Regions from separate parts of the Homo sapiens genome. Here region 2 is linked to region 1. The links are contacts of gene promoters, found by promoter capture Hi-C in human tissues and cell types (Jung and others, 2019). All regions are on one chromosome and are shown on one strand. Each heading gives the region's core, a stretch centred on a gene start or on the middle of the fragment in contact. The rest is flanking DNA. Distances are from core to core; before and after follow the strand shown.

Region 1 (7,932 bases), core at 1,492-3,991:
GTAATAAAGTTTACGGTCTTTTTAACATTAAAAGTGAAAAGTAAAATGGCTAAATTATAGTAGCCTAATCATTTCATGCCATTACTGAGGATTGACAGGTTGGTTGTTTTAACAGCTGTACAATGCTTAAGCTCTAAGGATTCTAAATCTCAAATAATAAAAAGAATAACACTTTGCATGAATGTTTTTATGAATATATCTCAGACATACTTTCTCACAGGCACTCTTTGTTAAAGATAATTATTATGTTTCAATCAGGAGCCACAGAGTAAAAAATTACAACGCTGGCTAAAGGTCCTATACAATCTGAAGCTAAATATGAAGCAAAGTAAATGTTTCACATTTGAATCTACTGTCTGACTTCTGGGATAGAAAAAGTCCTGTATGGTGATTAGTATTTAAAACAGGCAAGTCCAATCATTGAATGCTAAAAGATAAATTATATGACAGCATATCAAGCTGACTCTACTATGGTTTCATGTCACACAAAGGTTATGAGAGGTATATCATTTCTTCTGAGCCTTGTTTTTCAATGCACAGTAAGCAATGCTAATTATGAAAAGCAGGCATCTCTTGGGTTAACCAACACCCTCAATTTCTACCTCTGTTCACCTGCTGACCCCTGCCTTGCTCCCACAACACAGCATCTACTGCAAGAGTGATGCTGAGGGCTGTTTCTAGAACCTATGGCTCCCACAGCATCTCTGTATTCTTGCCCAGCACTGCTCTTTAGCAACATTCAAATAGGCCAGCTCTAAGTAAGATCTGACTTAGGAATGGGATAAGGCAGTGTCCCAAAAGGAGTTTTGCTCACATAGCCCCTCAAAGAATTCTGAAAATCTATGCACATATTTTTAAATAACATCTCAACATCCTTAACATAGTTAAGTGTAAACACTTGAAAAAGGGACATCTTTCTGGCGCTCTATGGGTGGTATGCTTGCTTCATATACATATGCATCAGAACCTCAGGGTTGCAGATTTAGCTCATTCAGTATACAGAAAATGTCTGCTACACAACATAATTGGCAAAGCCAATCCTCATTGACAAGCCAATCAACCCAATAAGACTTTCTGTCAAGGCAACTCCGACATTGTTGTTCAATCAAATATAAAGATAGCCCTGGTGACAACCATCTATCTTCTGGAAGCTAAAAGGAACAGACAGAAAAGCACACCTCAGAGTCTTGTCACGGGCTCCTCACTTGGATGAATGGGGAGAATGAAAGGAGAACTGGCAGGCATCACGCATGTTCAGAGGGAAATTAGTTTCAAGCAGAGTTGGAAGATGAGGATCTGAAAATTAAAACCCTTGCAACATTCTATACCCTGTGAAGTCTTGTGGGCCTAAGGGTATGTGCACAGTTTGGAGACTGCTGGGCAACAGAATTGAAATTCCACTCTGAAAGTATCTAATATAATGCAAATATAAGGTGTTATTTTTAAACCAAAAGCCTCTCTGCATTTCTTTGAGGCATCCTAAGCCTTTGGAAATTTTTAAAACAGGTATCATGTTCTCTTCATCAGAATGGAGGGTCAACAAGAGATTATAATCTTGCTGGTGTAGCCAACCAACTGTATAGTCTTGGATAAACAGTTCAGGGAGTCCCAGGAATTGGTTCTACAATTTCTCTGAGTGCTTTAGAACTTCATTGCTTTTGTTTTAAGCCTCTTCCTAATAATCTTTTAGCGTGTGTCTTAGTCACCTTTACCCTGAAATTCCTAGGTCCATCCATGAGTTCATTATTGGGCCTTATGCCCATGTTCTGTTCTCCAGGGAGGTTGAAGAGGGCCTTTTAGTGCCAGAAATAGAAAAACTTTCAAAATGATATACTAATAATAACCTGCACCTGTCAAGATTATCATATTGTGCCAACAGAGGAGCTGCTTATGCAAACTACTGTAAATTTGTACATGGGAAGACAGAGAAGTGTGTACAGTCACCTTGGAAATGCACTTTGAACATCTCTGTCTCCTAATATGTACGGGGTAAAGGTTGAAAGTAAATTATTGACAATGGGGGAAAAAAACAGATGCAAAGAAGACAACTTTATTAGGTGCTTTCTCTCCCTTATGAGAAGGATTTGGTTCTTTCAGGTGAAGTTCCAAATCACTAGACAATACCCAGTTTCCTTCAGTTGCAACAAGTTCATCCCACGGTGGGTGCTCTGAAAAGCACCTTGAGGGCGAATGGGTCTCAGGCCATTCAGGATCAGGTCCGATGCTTTTGTTGAAGATTCTTCCCGTGTCACCTCTTAGAAGCAGTTCGGTGTCCCCCTCCAAAGAGCCCACCACCTGGCTGCGCCCCACCTCCATTTGTCCCCCAGTTGCCAGGTAAGGGTACCCAGCTACCAGGTAACGGTGAGTGGTTCAGAAGGTGCCGCTGCGGGGGCAGCCAGGCCTTCACACGCAATCACTGGGGAAGAGGCGAGGACACGGGTGGATGCTGGAGGCGCGCACGTGCGCAGGTGCTCGCGCATCCACACACACACACACACACACACACACACACGCACACACAGGCACGGGGTGCGGGGCGAGCAGGGGGAGGGGACGGCCTTACCAGATCAATGAACGTCAGGAATTTCCAGCTCCCTCCGTAGGTCTGGTGTGAGGGCATTTCGATGGCCTTGTAGTTACACAGGATAGAGCAGTAAGACAGCAGGATTGCCATCCGCAGCACCTGGCAGGGGACAAGCGCCATGTTCGCCAGAGGCCTGGACCGGCTGGGCGGCAAGGAGGGCGGGCGTGAGGGAGGCGCCGGGCGCGCGGGGGCGGGCGCCGTGGGAACCCGGGCGCGGGCGCGGGCGCGGGGCGGGGCGGGGCGGGGGCGGGGGCGGGGGCGGGGCGCGCGCCCCCGGGGACTGGCGCGGCCGCGAGCGCCCGGGTGACCTGTACTGGCCGGGCGCGGTTTGCGGACGCTCTCCACTGCCGGCCGCGGCCTGGCAGGCGGCGTGTCGTCATCTCTTTCGTCACCTTCGTCATTCTGCTCCTGCGTTCGCAGGGTCCCGGGACACCCGGCCAGGAGGCGCCCCCTAGGCATCCCAGGTGTGGATGCGACCTCTGAGTGCTACGAGGGCTCGGGAAGTGCGCGCTGATCTCCAGGGGGAAGCGGGCCCTGTGGCTAGTGGGCGCCGGGCCGGGCGAGGGGGCGGGGAACCTAGACTGAAGGAGTGGACCCCAGTGTCCACAAATGTTCCCGCCCCGGAATCGCGGTGACGCTTCCTGGGGTAGTTGCAGTTGGCCGAGAGCTGGTGCCCCGTGCGGAGGGATCCGGTGGGGGTGTGAACGTGGGGTGTAAACCCGAGCACAGGCAGCCGCGAGTGACTTTCAGTATTTTGGGGCAATAAGGTTTTCAGTGTTGACAAACGACTGTCAATCACTAGGAAACTCTCTCAATTCTGCTTTCAATGGGTAGGCTACGCAGCACTTTTCCATGACAGATTGAATAATGTCATATCAGTATATAACATCAGCTAGAATATGAACTTTGGACAAGAGGTTTATAGATAAAAAGCTATAAAGAAAGGATTTTCAAATAACTTTCTGCCACAAGATTGCATTCAGCTTTAAAAAATTCCAATTTTGGATGTAAAACCCCTGCGTGTAATTTAATACTAATCATCTGGTTGTTAAACTGGTTTTGCCCTTACTTTTTTCTTACACTACACTACCAGGGCTTAATGGAAGGAAAATAAATATAAACTGGAGTCCCTCCTGCCTTCCAGTAAATGTTGTCACACTGAAGTTGCATCAGTCTGTGGGCAACATTTTCATTTCAGCCAACCAGTTGCAGGTTCGGATTATGAAAAGGCAACATAGGTATTTCCTGTGGATCCATTTAAAACAGGTGTCCTCTTCAAATAGTCTCTGAGTCAGAGGATGTGGAGGGAGGGCTGGTGGGGAGAAGCATAGTGCTAGAGGTAAAGAGAAAGTAGCAAGCAAGCCATGGATGTTTTCCTGAATGTTTCCAATCAAGCTCTAAACTAAAATGAAGAGACCCACTAGATTTTTTTAATTGGCATTATAATTATGCTAATAGAACTGATGTCAGAAGAAGATTCTACTAGCATTAAAACGATGTATTATTGATGATTTTTGGTTAAATCTTAATGTAAAAGTTGGCTTTATTTTTTTAATTGTGCATCCTTGGTACATGGTTATAAACTGCCAAAAAAATAAAAATAAAAAAGAGTAGATCTATTGAAGATCTACCTACCTTAATAATGTGTCTGGAATTGGTTCCTGCCGGTAGATTAGTGGTCTCAGTGACTTCAAGAATGAAGCGGCAGACCTTGGTGGTAAGTGTTACAGCTCTTAAAGATGGCACAGACCCAGAGTGAGCGATAGCAAGGTTTATTGTGAAGAGTGAAAGGACAAAGCTTCCACAGCATGAAAGGGGACTGGAGCGGGTTGCTGCTGCTGGCTGGGGTGGCCAGCTTTTATTCCCTTATTGTCCTCTCCAGTGTTCTGTTTCTGTCCTATGAGAGTGCCCTTTTTTCAGTCCTCCCTGCGATTGGCTACTTTTAAAATCTTGCTGATTGGTGCGTTTTACAGAGTGCTGATTAGTGTGTTTTACAGAGTGCTGATTGGTGCTTTTTACAGAGCGCTGATTGGTGCATTTTACACTCCTCTTGTAAGACAGGCAAGTTCCCCAAGTCCCCACTTGTCTCAGGAGGTCCAGCTGGCCTCACCTCTCAATAGAGCCTTAATAAAGTTTTATGAGTTAATGTGATATTTGCAAAGTTTGATATACCCTTCCTACTTTACATGTTAGACAATTATTAAGACTCCCCAACCCCATTGTTACAAAATGAAATAATATTTTCATAAAGCCATTTTTAATGGTCAGGTTTTTTGTTTTGTTTTTCTTTTTGTTTTTTTGTGAGACAGAGTCTAGCTCTGTCACCCAGGCGGAAGTGCAGTGGCATGATCTCAGCTCACTGCAACCTCTGCCTCCTGGGTTCAACTATTCTCCTGCCTCAGCCTCCCAAGTAGCTGGGACTACAGGCGCATGCCACCACACCTGGCTAATTTTTTTTGTATCTTTAGTAGAGATGGGGTTTCACCATGTTGGCCAGGTTGGTCTTGAACTCCTGACTTCAAATGATCCACCTGCCTCGGCCTCCCAAAGTGCTGGGATTACAGGTGTGAGTCACTGCGCCCGACCAGTTTCTTTTAAATAAATAACTATAACTCTTAATTAAGTATTTAGAACCTATTCTGCTGGGTTTGCTTTTGTTTTTTCATGATTTGCCAACCATGATCAGATAGTTTTGTGCTTTAAAAAAATGAAGCGTTTGTATAAAACTTGACTCAAATACTATTTTATGAGAATGTCAGTTCACAATTTTTGGAACTTCTTGATAACTATTAACATGTCCAGGCTTGCTTTCTGTGCTTTTCAGACCATATCTAACAATCTTAGTCATGTTTTACAGATAACTTTTGTGGAAAATATTAATCTACACACATTGTGTTTTTACAGCGTAAACAATTGCTTTTAAAACTTCATTAGGTAAGTTATTACTTTTTATGAACTATAATACATTATTCACTTCTAAGTATTCTTATGATGATTCCATATTTGATTTAGATAATACTGTTTTCTATGTATAGAAGAAATATTTGCATGTCTTTTTTTTTATCTTTTTCATTCTACTACACAGTTAGTGAGACTGGAGGAGAAAAGCCTCATCCAGTTGAATTTCATCAATAGCAGTAAACATAAGAAACACCAAGGGAAGATTTCAAGAACCCGTTTTAGCTTCAAGCTATATTCTTTGATTGTTGTAATATTTCTTAGACTATATATGGGGCTGAAGATACCCTTTCTTAAGTACTTCTAATAATTGAGACAGACTGTTCATTCCTTTTTTTTCTTTTGGAGGGGGGGTGTATTAGTCCATTTTCATACTGCTATGAAGAAATACCTGTGATTGGATAATTCATAGAGAAAAAGAGTCTTAATGGACTCACAGTTCCACATGGCTGGGGAGGCTTCACCCTCATGGCAGAAGATAAAGGAAGAGCAAAGTCACATCTTACGTGGTGGCAGGCAAAAGAGTGTGTGCAGGAAACTGCCCTTTATAAAACCATCAGATCTCCTGAGACTTATTCACTATCACAAGAACAGCACAGGAAAACCTGCCCCCATGATTCAATTACCTCCCACCAGTTCCCCCCCTACAATGCGTGGAGATTAAGGGAGCTACAATTCAAGATGAAATTTGGGTGGGGACACAGCCAAACCGTATCAGGGAGGATGTCTGTCTGACATACTGATGATAATACCTGTTAATTTGGGAAATGACTGGGACTCCTATGTCACCCTTAAATTGTATTCCAAGAAGCCAACTTTATGTAACTATTGGTCGTTGCTTAAAAGTTCAGGAGGAAGAATTGTGTTTATACATATCCTTGCAGTATTCGATATTTACACATTTCCTTTGGTTCTGCATTTACATGAGATAAGCATTTTCTAACAATATCAATATATTTGGAACAAATTTTTTCTCCCCATTTATCTGTACTTCAAGGGTGAAAGTTAGGACATGTCCCCCTCAGAGGCCTGGGCATGGAAAAAGTCTTCAGTATTACAGAAAAGATACCTCTGAATTATTTTTATTCATTATAAATGTAGCGTATTTATGATACTAAAATGGAAACGCTACTTTTAAAAAAACATTTTCCCCACTCTCTCCACCCAGAGAAAACAATGAACATTTTAGCATATTCCTGCAAGTCTTTTACAATATAGAGTTAGCTGATTGTGACATACTATATAACAACTTGCATCACAGAGATTTCTTCTGCCTCAAGTTTAATAGCAATTTTCTCCTATTTAAAACATTGTAAAACTCATGTTTAATGATTGCATAGCACAACATCATATGGACATATATTTTGCTTAAACTTTTTTTCTTTTTGGATATTTATGTTCTTTTAAAGTTTTCACCACTAAATACACAGTAATGTCTGTATTTTGAATTGAGAAAGCTACTTTTTAGGATTATATGGAACTCAAAACCAATTAAGAAACTACACTTCTAGAACCTACTGTGTGTTGTTCATGTTTGTTTATATGAACTGAGGTGACAGAGTTCTTTTACCCTGGAGGGCAGTTGGGAAAGATTAAGAGAAAGAAGTAGGTAAAAATTACTCTTTTTTTTCCTTACAATTGATGCTTATTACAGCTTTTTCAAATTGCCATAGACACAAAATGCAGTACCAATGCATTTAATTAGCCAGGTGTTTTTTGTGTTTGTTTTGGGGGTTGTTGTTTTTTTGTTTTGGATTTGGTTTGTTTGTTTGTCTTTTTTTTGCTATTAACCAGTAAAAATTGTTCTTTACAGGCCAAATGAGCAGCAGCTACTAGTGGTTGTGTTGATGCTGCAAGTTTTCACTGATTTTAAAATGGACTGTTTTTGCTACAGAGAACTCTATAAGATTTCTAAACACCGAGGATTCTATGGAGGGTCATTGAAAAGTGTTAGAAAAATTAGGGTCTAGATGAGTCGTGAGTCTTGCATGATCTCATACAGATGCAAAACATCTCCGTCACTCTCTAGTACTAGAAGTGCATTTACCAGTGCTCCTCATCAAGCTTGGAATGCTCTCTCTTCGTGTGCATGTATCCAAACCCAACACATCCAGCAAGACTCAATTAAGTCCACTTCATCTGACAGTCCCTCTTTGGGACATATGTTGTAGCCACCCTGCTCTGAATGGTCTACCTGGATGGCTTACTGGTGACACAAATCCTACATGCATTCATTATACTCATTATTTCCTCCTCAAAAACTGACCCACTGCAATTAGAAAAGTCAGGACAGAGCCAGATGGCCTGGAGGTGCCAGTCTCTTAATGGTGCTAAAATGTCCCTGGAAGCTAGCAAGTTGAAAGTAATATACTCACCCAAATTCTTCTCAG
Region 2 (7,932 bases), core at 3,593-6,092, 660 kb after region 1:
GTAGCATGCATCTTGGAAACAAAATACCAGCAGTATCCTAACCTAGGATACATTGGCCAAGTACTGCTTTAAGAACTTTACAGGTAAAATCTGATTTTGAGTTCACATAACTCTGCAAAGCAGATTATAATTCACATCTTATAGAAGATTAAATGGAATTTGGTAAATCAACGAATTTTCCAAGTTCTCACAGCCAGGAAGAGATGGAGCCACATTTCAAACTCAAGTCCATACATCTCTACAGTCCCCTTCTTTGCTCCCTACAAAGTGTCAAACCCAGCAATATTTATAGTATGCAAAGTATTTATGCTTAGGCAGTTTCCATTTCTGAATTTCCCCCAGGAAAACTCTAATTGGGAGTGAGGTGGGTAGAGAAATGGATTTGACTTGCTATTCCATGAATCCCTGCAATTATCTAGTCTCTGAGGTTTCTGTTAAACATTTAGAGAAAATCTACACCCTGACAGTTTCCATCAGCAGACTATCCCAATCTGGATCTTGTCTTCATTTCCTCTTTGCCTCCTCTCCCCATTCCAGCAATAATCAGTCAAAATAGTTAAAAAGTTTCGGAATTCCAGACGCATGTTCCAAGGGTAGGCTAGGTTCATCCACATACAAGGTACTTTGCTCTGGTGCTACCCACTGGCTTCTAAACTCTTCAGTTTTTCTGTGAAAGGGCTTGATTAGCATGTGGCTGGGAGGAAAACACTGCCTTTCTGAGTCATCCACTTATGTTATCTTTATTCCCCAGGAGTGAATGATACAGGCATACACAGAGATTCCTGCCCTTCTTTGCAATCAATATAATGCCTAAGAACTACCGTGCTGCACGTATAACCCTGGGAAGGCTGATAACATGTAGCTTTGCTGGCAAGAGTCAGTGAAAATATTACCATATCCGAGAAGCAGAAAAGCCAGGCTTGTCTGGACAAGGAAGAACGTATTCAGAAGGTTGGATAGATGGCCAGTAGTAGCCTTTGGGTTCCTCCATGGCAAGACAATGACCTATATGAACATAAGAACCAGCATGAGAAATATTCACCTATTTTTTAAAGTTAGAGATTAGAGATGCAGGATGAAAGCAAAATGACAATGCTGGTAATTAGGTATTTCTTTAATGTAATACCAAAATATTAGTGTTTATCTTCAGAATTTGTAAAAAAAAAAATTAGAAGTTAGAAAAAACATTAACATTTAATACACTTCAAATCCAAAAATCATTACATTGGACAAAACCTTAAGTAAAAAACACAGTTATGTAAGTATAAACATGAAACATACATTATCATTCTAATCATTAGCAGATACTAGTTTTATTCAAAGAAATAAACCCTACAGAGAAGGAAAACAATCCTGAAAAATTCAAAATGTAATTTGATTTTTTTCAAAGGGGAAAGCCTAGAAATGATGCCTCAATAGTGTCTTCTTTGAGTTGTGTGGCTATTTTATAGAAAATGTTCCAGCTGCTCTGATAGCCTCTCCTGCCTGGAAGCTAACTAAGGGGGACACAGGAAGTCACCTGCAAACCAACAAACTCTCAGACTTCTTTATCCTCACATCATCTGACTTTTTGTTTGACGACTCTCTAAGTAAGCCTCATGACATCAATGATTCAGATTCTACATTTTAAAGGATATCAAAGTAACAGCAATACGTCAACAACAACAATAAACTCTTGTATTTCAGTACTGAGCATTAGTGAGTTATATCAGTTTTCTGGGAACAAGTACTGTCATCACCAACTGAAAATTCAAATAACTTTCCCATGTATACTGTGAACTTTAAAACTGTTAGGTTTTAGCCTTTTATTTTTCCATTGGTAGAAGCGCTTATCCACAGATTCATTTGCAGAAAAACAATAAAACGGATAATTTAAATTAAATGGTATAAATTAAATGTCTAAATATATGGACAGAGTGGTGCTGGGCTTTCACAGCCTATGAGGACAGAGCCAGTGCTGGTCCTCCTAGGGTTCTCCAGTCATAGATAAACTACCATTTGTCAGACTCCTTCTTTGTGAAGACTCCTATACGTGAAAGGGTAGCAGCTTGCATTCTCCCTCCCTCCAAAAAGCCCCATTTGTTAAGAAGTATTTTCCCATAGAGACTCAGAAATGGTTTATTACCATGATTAGTATTATTATTTGCATTCATCCATCTCTATGAGTTCTTTGTAACGGTGTACATCCACCCAATAGAGATGGGTGGCTCCTCACAGAAGTGGAGATGCCTGCCTCTTTACTAGACTGTGATTATGGCCTTGGTCGCAATCGCCCTCTTCAAGGCTGAGGAACACTTGCCTCCCTCAATTCAACCTCCTGAGTGTAGAGAAGGCGAAGGGTCAAAGTTTTCTTTTCTTTTGATCTCTACTAATGTACCTAATCACAGTATAATTGCAATCATAGAATAACATTAAAACAATTGCTTTTTGTTATCCATATTTGTGAACATTTGATTTCCTAAAATATTCTCATGCAGACTCATTCATTTGTCTATTCAACAAGTGTTCCAGTTCCAGGGAATGTGCTGGGTTCTGGAAATATGTGGGAAGTAAGAGTTAAAGAAAAAAGAAAATATGATCTTAAGTCAGAGATTATTGTTTACAGAATATATACATATATATATATGTGAACATAAATATATCTAGTCTTCTAAGTACTATGGTCTTCTGATGCATATGATGCTCTAGGCATCTGGACAGCATGAAGTAGAGGCTCAAAGGCAGTGATGTCTATACTTTATTTCAGAAAAGGTTCCAAAGAAGAGCTGACTTAGGAGCTGTCTTTAAAAATACATAGGTGATAATGAGGTTGCCGGTGGGAGTGGAGAAGAACAGTGTGCAAAGATATAGAAAGGGTATCTAAAGGAAGCAGCACAGCCTCTTTGTGGAAGTACAAGCCGTGCCATATGTGTGGCTAGAGCTTAGGATGTGAACGATCTCCAGGAGAAACTTGATTTTAGGTCCAACAGAATCCCTACATTCATGACCTAGTCCTGTGAAGACAGTGGTATCACTAATAGAGACAGGGAACATGAGAGAAGGAGACGTTTTCTGTTTGTTTTTTTGAGACAGGGTCTCATTCTGCTGCCCAGGCTGGAGTGCAGTGGCATGAACATGGCTCACTGCAGCCTTGACCTCCCAAGCTCAGGTAATCCTCCTGCCTCAGCCCCGCCTAGTAACTGAGATTACAGGTGCACAGCACAACACCCAACTAATTTCTTAATCTTTCGTAGAGACAGTCTCCCTGTGTAGCCCAGGCTAGTCTCGAATTCCTGGGCTCAAGTTATTCTCCACCTTGGCCTCCCAAAGTGCTGGGATTATAGGCATGAGCCACCATGCCCAGCAGGAGATGTTTTAAAACAGGAAATCTCCTTCTATAAGATTTATCTCATTAGAGTTCCCACATTCACATCTACACACTCTTTTTTTTCCCTAAAGTTGACAACAGTGATGATCAAGATTATTCTGGCATTTTGTTCATATTGTTAGTATTTTCAAAATATGTTCCTAAAGTAAAATATAAACTTTCATCTACCTCCTTCATTCCCTTGGATTCACAGACACTGAGCTGATTTTTTTTTTCTGCTATGTCATTCATTTGTTACTGAACTTCACCATCAGAAAAAAAACTTACATAAACAAATAGCGCATAAAGAAAATTTCTGCTGTTGTTTCAAGTAAACCTGAATATACAGTTGTATAAAATGCATATTATAAAAAAATTAGTCACTTACCCAGTTGTCTCACATTCACTGTATGTAGCCTCAAGCCTTCATCCAAGGACTCATTATTTTTTAGGAGCTTCTGCTGAATGATTTTTCCTTCCAAATTAGTATTGTTGGTAGCATTGTAAACTAGAAGGGCCCAAAGCACCAACCTAGGGAAACATTTCGGATAGAACTGTTGTTGTTGTTCATTGGTTGCTTGTCATTTGGTAGGAGAAACAGAGTATTTGGATGTAGAGGGATGACCATCACCTGTTGAGACTGAAGAGATTAGCCAAGGTGCTCACAGACTTTCTCTGCTGCTGTGTAAATTATAATGTTAAAAATATTCCAATATTAATAGATTCTATAGGCTATTGCTTGTATAATTCTGTCAAATAACTCCATTTCTTTTCAGAAATATTTTAATATTTAATATTTATAGTAATACATTATATAGTCATTTAAAGCATAAACACAAGAAAACAGCATTCCTGTGGTTAATTCTACATTTTTTCTTTGTGGCCCCAAATTAATTTTTTTTAATAAAACTATGATTTCAACTGACCATTTATCTTTTGAAATTACCATTTCTAACTATTAGAAATTAACTATTTATATTTACTAACACTATAAAAGTGTTACTATTCATGAATGTGATATAATTTCTTCAGAATAGCAACAAATGATTTTCTATCTCCATGAGGCATTTGCAAATACTTTTTATGGTAAAAAGTTTCACAAAATAAATACTTAAAATCGACTCTGTGATTGGTCAGCATATTACTTAAGAAGGTTATAGAATGGTTGACTTTGAAGGTCTTTAAAAAGGAAATACCTCTATGGGAAGCAAAGAAATGTATCCCCAAAGCCCTGTTAAAAACTTTTGGTTCTACAATTTAAAGTAATATAATTTTCTGTTCCACTACAATCACAGCTATAGTCAAAAGCAGAAATCAAAACTATTAATTTAACACTGAGGTAAAAGTAAGTAACATTATTTTGTCAGGTAGAGGAGAATTTCTTTTGCTTATATGTGAAAGCTCTGGATTCACAAAAAAATTGTTTCTTCTTCATATTCAGAGGAGAAATGAATAAGATAAGACGTTATATTATTGAGATCAGTTACTGTCTTCACGCCAAAGACAAAGTGGTAGTATTGTTTTTAAACTAGTTATGGAATGTCTAGTGGAGAGGCAGTGACATTTTATTTATGAAACTATGAATATTAATAAGTATTATAGTAGTAATTTATTTGTGGTGTTAAAAAATAAGAAGGAATATGTGAAATATTTGCTATTCAAGGCTAGGTGAAATTAAAGAATAGCTCAAGTTTTCTTTCCTAAATATCTGTGCTAATTTCAAGGAATAGGTGCTCTACTCTTCTCATAATTAACTCTGAAAAGCTCTCTCTAAAATGATCTACTGCTTACCATTCGCATACAAGCCATATTTCAGGATGAGGCAAACATAATGAATATAATGATAGCTGTGAACATAGATGTGACTATGATAGCTTAACAATTTTTAAAATGGCCCATGAAAAAGTATCCCTGGATTAAGTCATTGTTTAAAGACAAGCTTCGCCACTCCAGTTGGTGAGAACTTACAGCTGGGAATGTGACCTTTTACTTGTCTTGAATACTGAGAACATAATTAGCCCAAAGTATTGTGGGTGATATTGAATACCCAAACCCAACAAGTCAGGAATAGCCATACATTTTCACAGGTCTTATCTGTGTGTTTTCCTCTCTCATCCTGAAAACTGAAACTATTTTATGGTTCTACAAAGTTACATTCTATCTGTTGTTACCATCAGCCATTCTTTATTTGAAAAAAACCTCTCTGTGGCTTTGGTTTCCTGTCTGTCTAGGCAATAGAGTATGACAGCATTATCTGAAGCTATGGTCTGTGTTAAGTGATACAATCAAATTGAAAGGAAAAGTTTTTTTAAAAAACAATGTATGTAAAAGTAGTAGACTGTGGTTTTGACAAAAACTGAGACTATAAAGCCTCACCAATGAGGGTAAGAGCCATAGAGAATAGAAAAAAGAGACAAGAAAGGCTATAAACATAAATATTAAATAATGGCAAGAGTTCATACCAAAAAGCCCCTAAATATGTGGATTTTGCTATATACACTGTCTCAGTTCATTCTCCCTATAATTTTCTGTAAAATTACTCATTGCTTTGAAGACCAGGAAACTGAAATCCCATGAATTTAAATGTCCTTCAAGAAGAGTTTCTGAGGTGCTGACATGTACTAACGATGGCTGATTTTAGTATCACCAGGTAGTAGAAGAACCACAGTAAGTACACTAAAAAGCGGACGCTGACTGCCTGAAGAAGGTATACCATTGGCTATATCTACCAAACCCAGGGCTGTCCCAGTTGCTACACAAAGTGTCCAGCAAAGGGATCCTGATTGCTGCTGGATCCATTACTGAAGATGCAATATGACCTAACAGAAAGGATTGAAAAAAATTATTTGGTTAAATAGTGGAGAAGAGTTCTGTCACCTTCAAGAATACAGTACTGAAATATACTACTGTGTTTTCATATCATAAAGAAAAAATTATAATACCAGAAAATAAAAACAAGTTTCCCTAATCACATGGCTCAATCCAGTCCATTTACTATGTATACAAAAATGACATCTTTCAATATAACTTTCAAAACATTTGTTTTTCTAGTGTTGAAAAGAAAAAAAAAGCTCTCTGGTCAATTCTCATATGAAATTTTATCTTTTCATAGTAAGAAGATATCACCTGAAAAGAAGCAAGCTCCGTCATCAGGGCTGTATATCCATAAGATTTAATTCAGTCTATTGAGATCCAGCAAGACTTATAGAAACTTTTGCTTCACAACAAATTTTTAAAAAATTGTATGGAGGCCAGATATGACATCTCACGCCTGTACATGTAATCCCAGCACTCTGGGGGGGGCTGAGACAGGAGGTTTACTTGAGGCCAGGAGTTTGAGATGAGCCTGAGCAACATAGCAAGACCCAGTCTCTACAAAAATAGTATTTTAAAAATTAGCCAGGTATGCTAGCACATGTGTGTAGCCCCAGCTACTCAGGAGGCTAAGGCAGGAGGATCATTTGAGCCTAGGAGTTCAAGGCTGCAGTGAGTGATGGTCACACCACTGCACTCCAGCCCGGGTGACAAAGTGAGACTCTGTCTCAAAAAAAAAAAAAAAAAAATCTACAGAGATGCAATACATGACCTGAATAACCTAAATACAACTAAATTTATTCCATTTGGAAATTTAGGGTTTTTTTGTTTGTTTTACAGTACTCTGAACATTTGGTCCTTACATGCCAACTGGTCATATATGCTGGACATATCCATTAAATTACCTGCATGATTAAGGCATGATCCTGATATAAATATTAAAAGGGAGACTTCAGAAAATTAACTAATAGCTTTAAATGCTGAAAACATTTAGGCATCTATTATCCATATTATTAGATGTTATCATATATAAACACTTTATTTAAAGCTATTTTCTTTGAAGGTACCTTTGCAATTTCAAGTAAGAGGCAATGGGTTATGATAAATAAACTGGAAATACTAAAAATAATAATCCATCCATTTTAAATGCCCTATTTCTCAATTATTTTTCATTGGATATACATTACTACCCAGTCTGTTACATTACAGTTTTAACTACAAGAAAAAAGTAGTGTACAGCAGTGCTAAAGAAATAACTGTGCTATGTGATTAAGTTTTTCTTTCCTATCTAATTGTTTTCATTTCTCTACCAGATAAAGTAGTGAGCAAGAGAAAGAATGTTATACTCTTTACAATACTTTGTCCTGTTACCTTGGCTCATCCTCAAGGCTTCTCTTGACTTTAATCTTGTCCTCTCCAGCACTCAGGTGAAAACTAAAAACACAAATACATATATTCATTAATCCACCTCACCAACTACATCATCAACAATAAAATTTGGGGACCTGAAATAAAGAGACAGAATGGGAATTCTAAGCCAATATTTTCAAATGTGTGTCCTGAGGTTCTAGCTTCTTTCAGAAAGCTAGGCAACTGTGTGCTTTTGCTCTGTTTTGAAGATTCACAATTCATATTATTACACTAAAGAAACTGAGACGTTCTGATAAAAAAATCTGCTTCAGTTTGTACAATAACGTACTTCCTGAACTTATATGACAATTTGACACCTGTTCTGTGTTATTAAATCTCTTATCTTCACAGAATATATGTTT

What was found. Contacts are between HindIII fragments. The study calls those that stand out against the background at their distance.
Region 2: a fragment that was not itself captured here is called in contact with the fragment with the promoter of AIG1 in region 1 in 1 of the 25 tissues and cell types used here (mesenchymal stem cells).

What each region holds. Positions count from the first base shown.
Region 1 is chr6:143,055,698-143,063,629 of GRCh38, reverse strand. It overlaps AIG1 (androgen induced 1), which reads right to left and starts at 2,741. Exons shown (of 6, transcript NM_016108.4): 1 at 2,564-2,741. The coding sequence starts at 2,704. RefSeq lists enhancers at 2,202-2,251, 2,852-2,981, 2,807-3,745 and silencers at 2,442-2,511, 2,762-2,851. The HindIII fragment of the contact is 7,626 bases long and covers 1-5,994 here.
Region 2 is chr6:142,393,558-142,401,489 of GRCh38, reverse strand. ADGRG6 (adhesion G protein-coupled receptor G6) reads right to left here. Exons shown (of 25, transcript NM_198569.3): 9 at 7,532-7,594; 10 at 3,735-3,877; 11 at 894-1,005. Among named protein-coding and RNA genes, the nearest start is that of ADGRG6, 96 kb to the right of the region's middle. The HindIII fragment of the contact is 4,789 bases long and covers 2,448-7,236 here.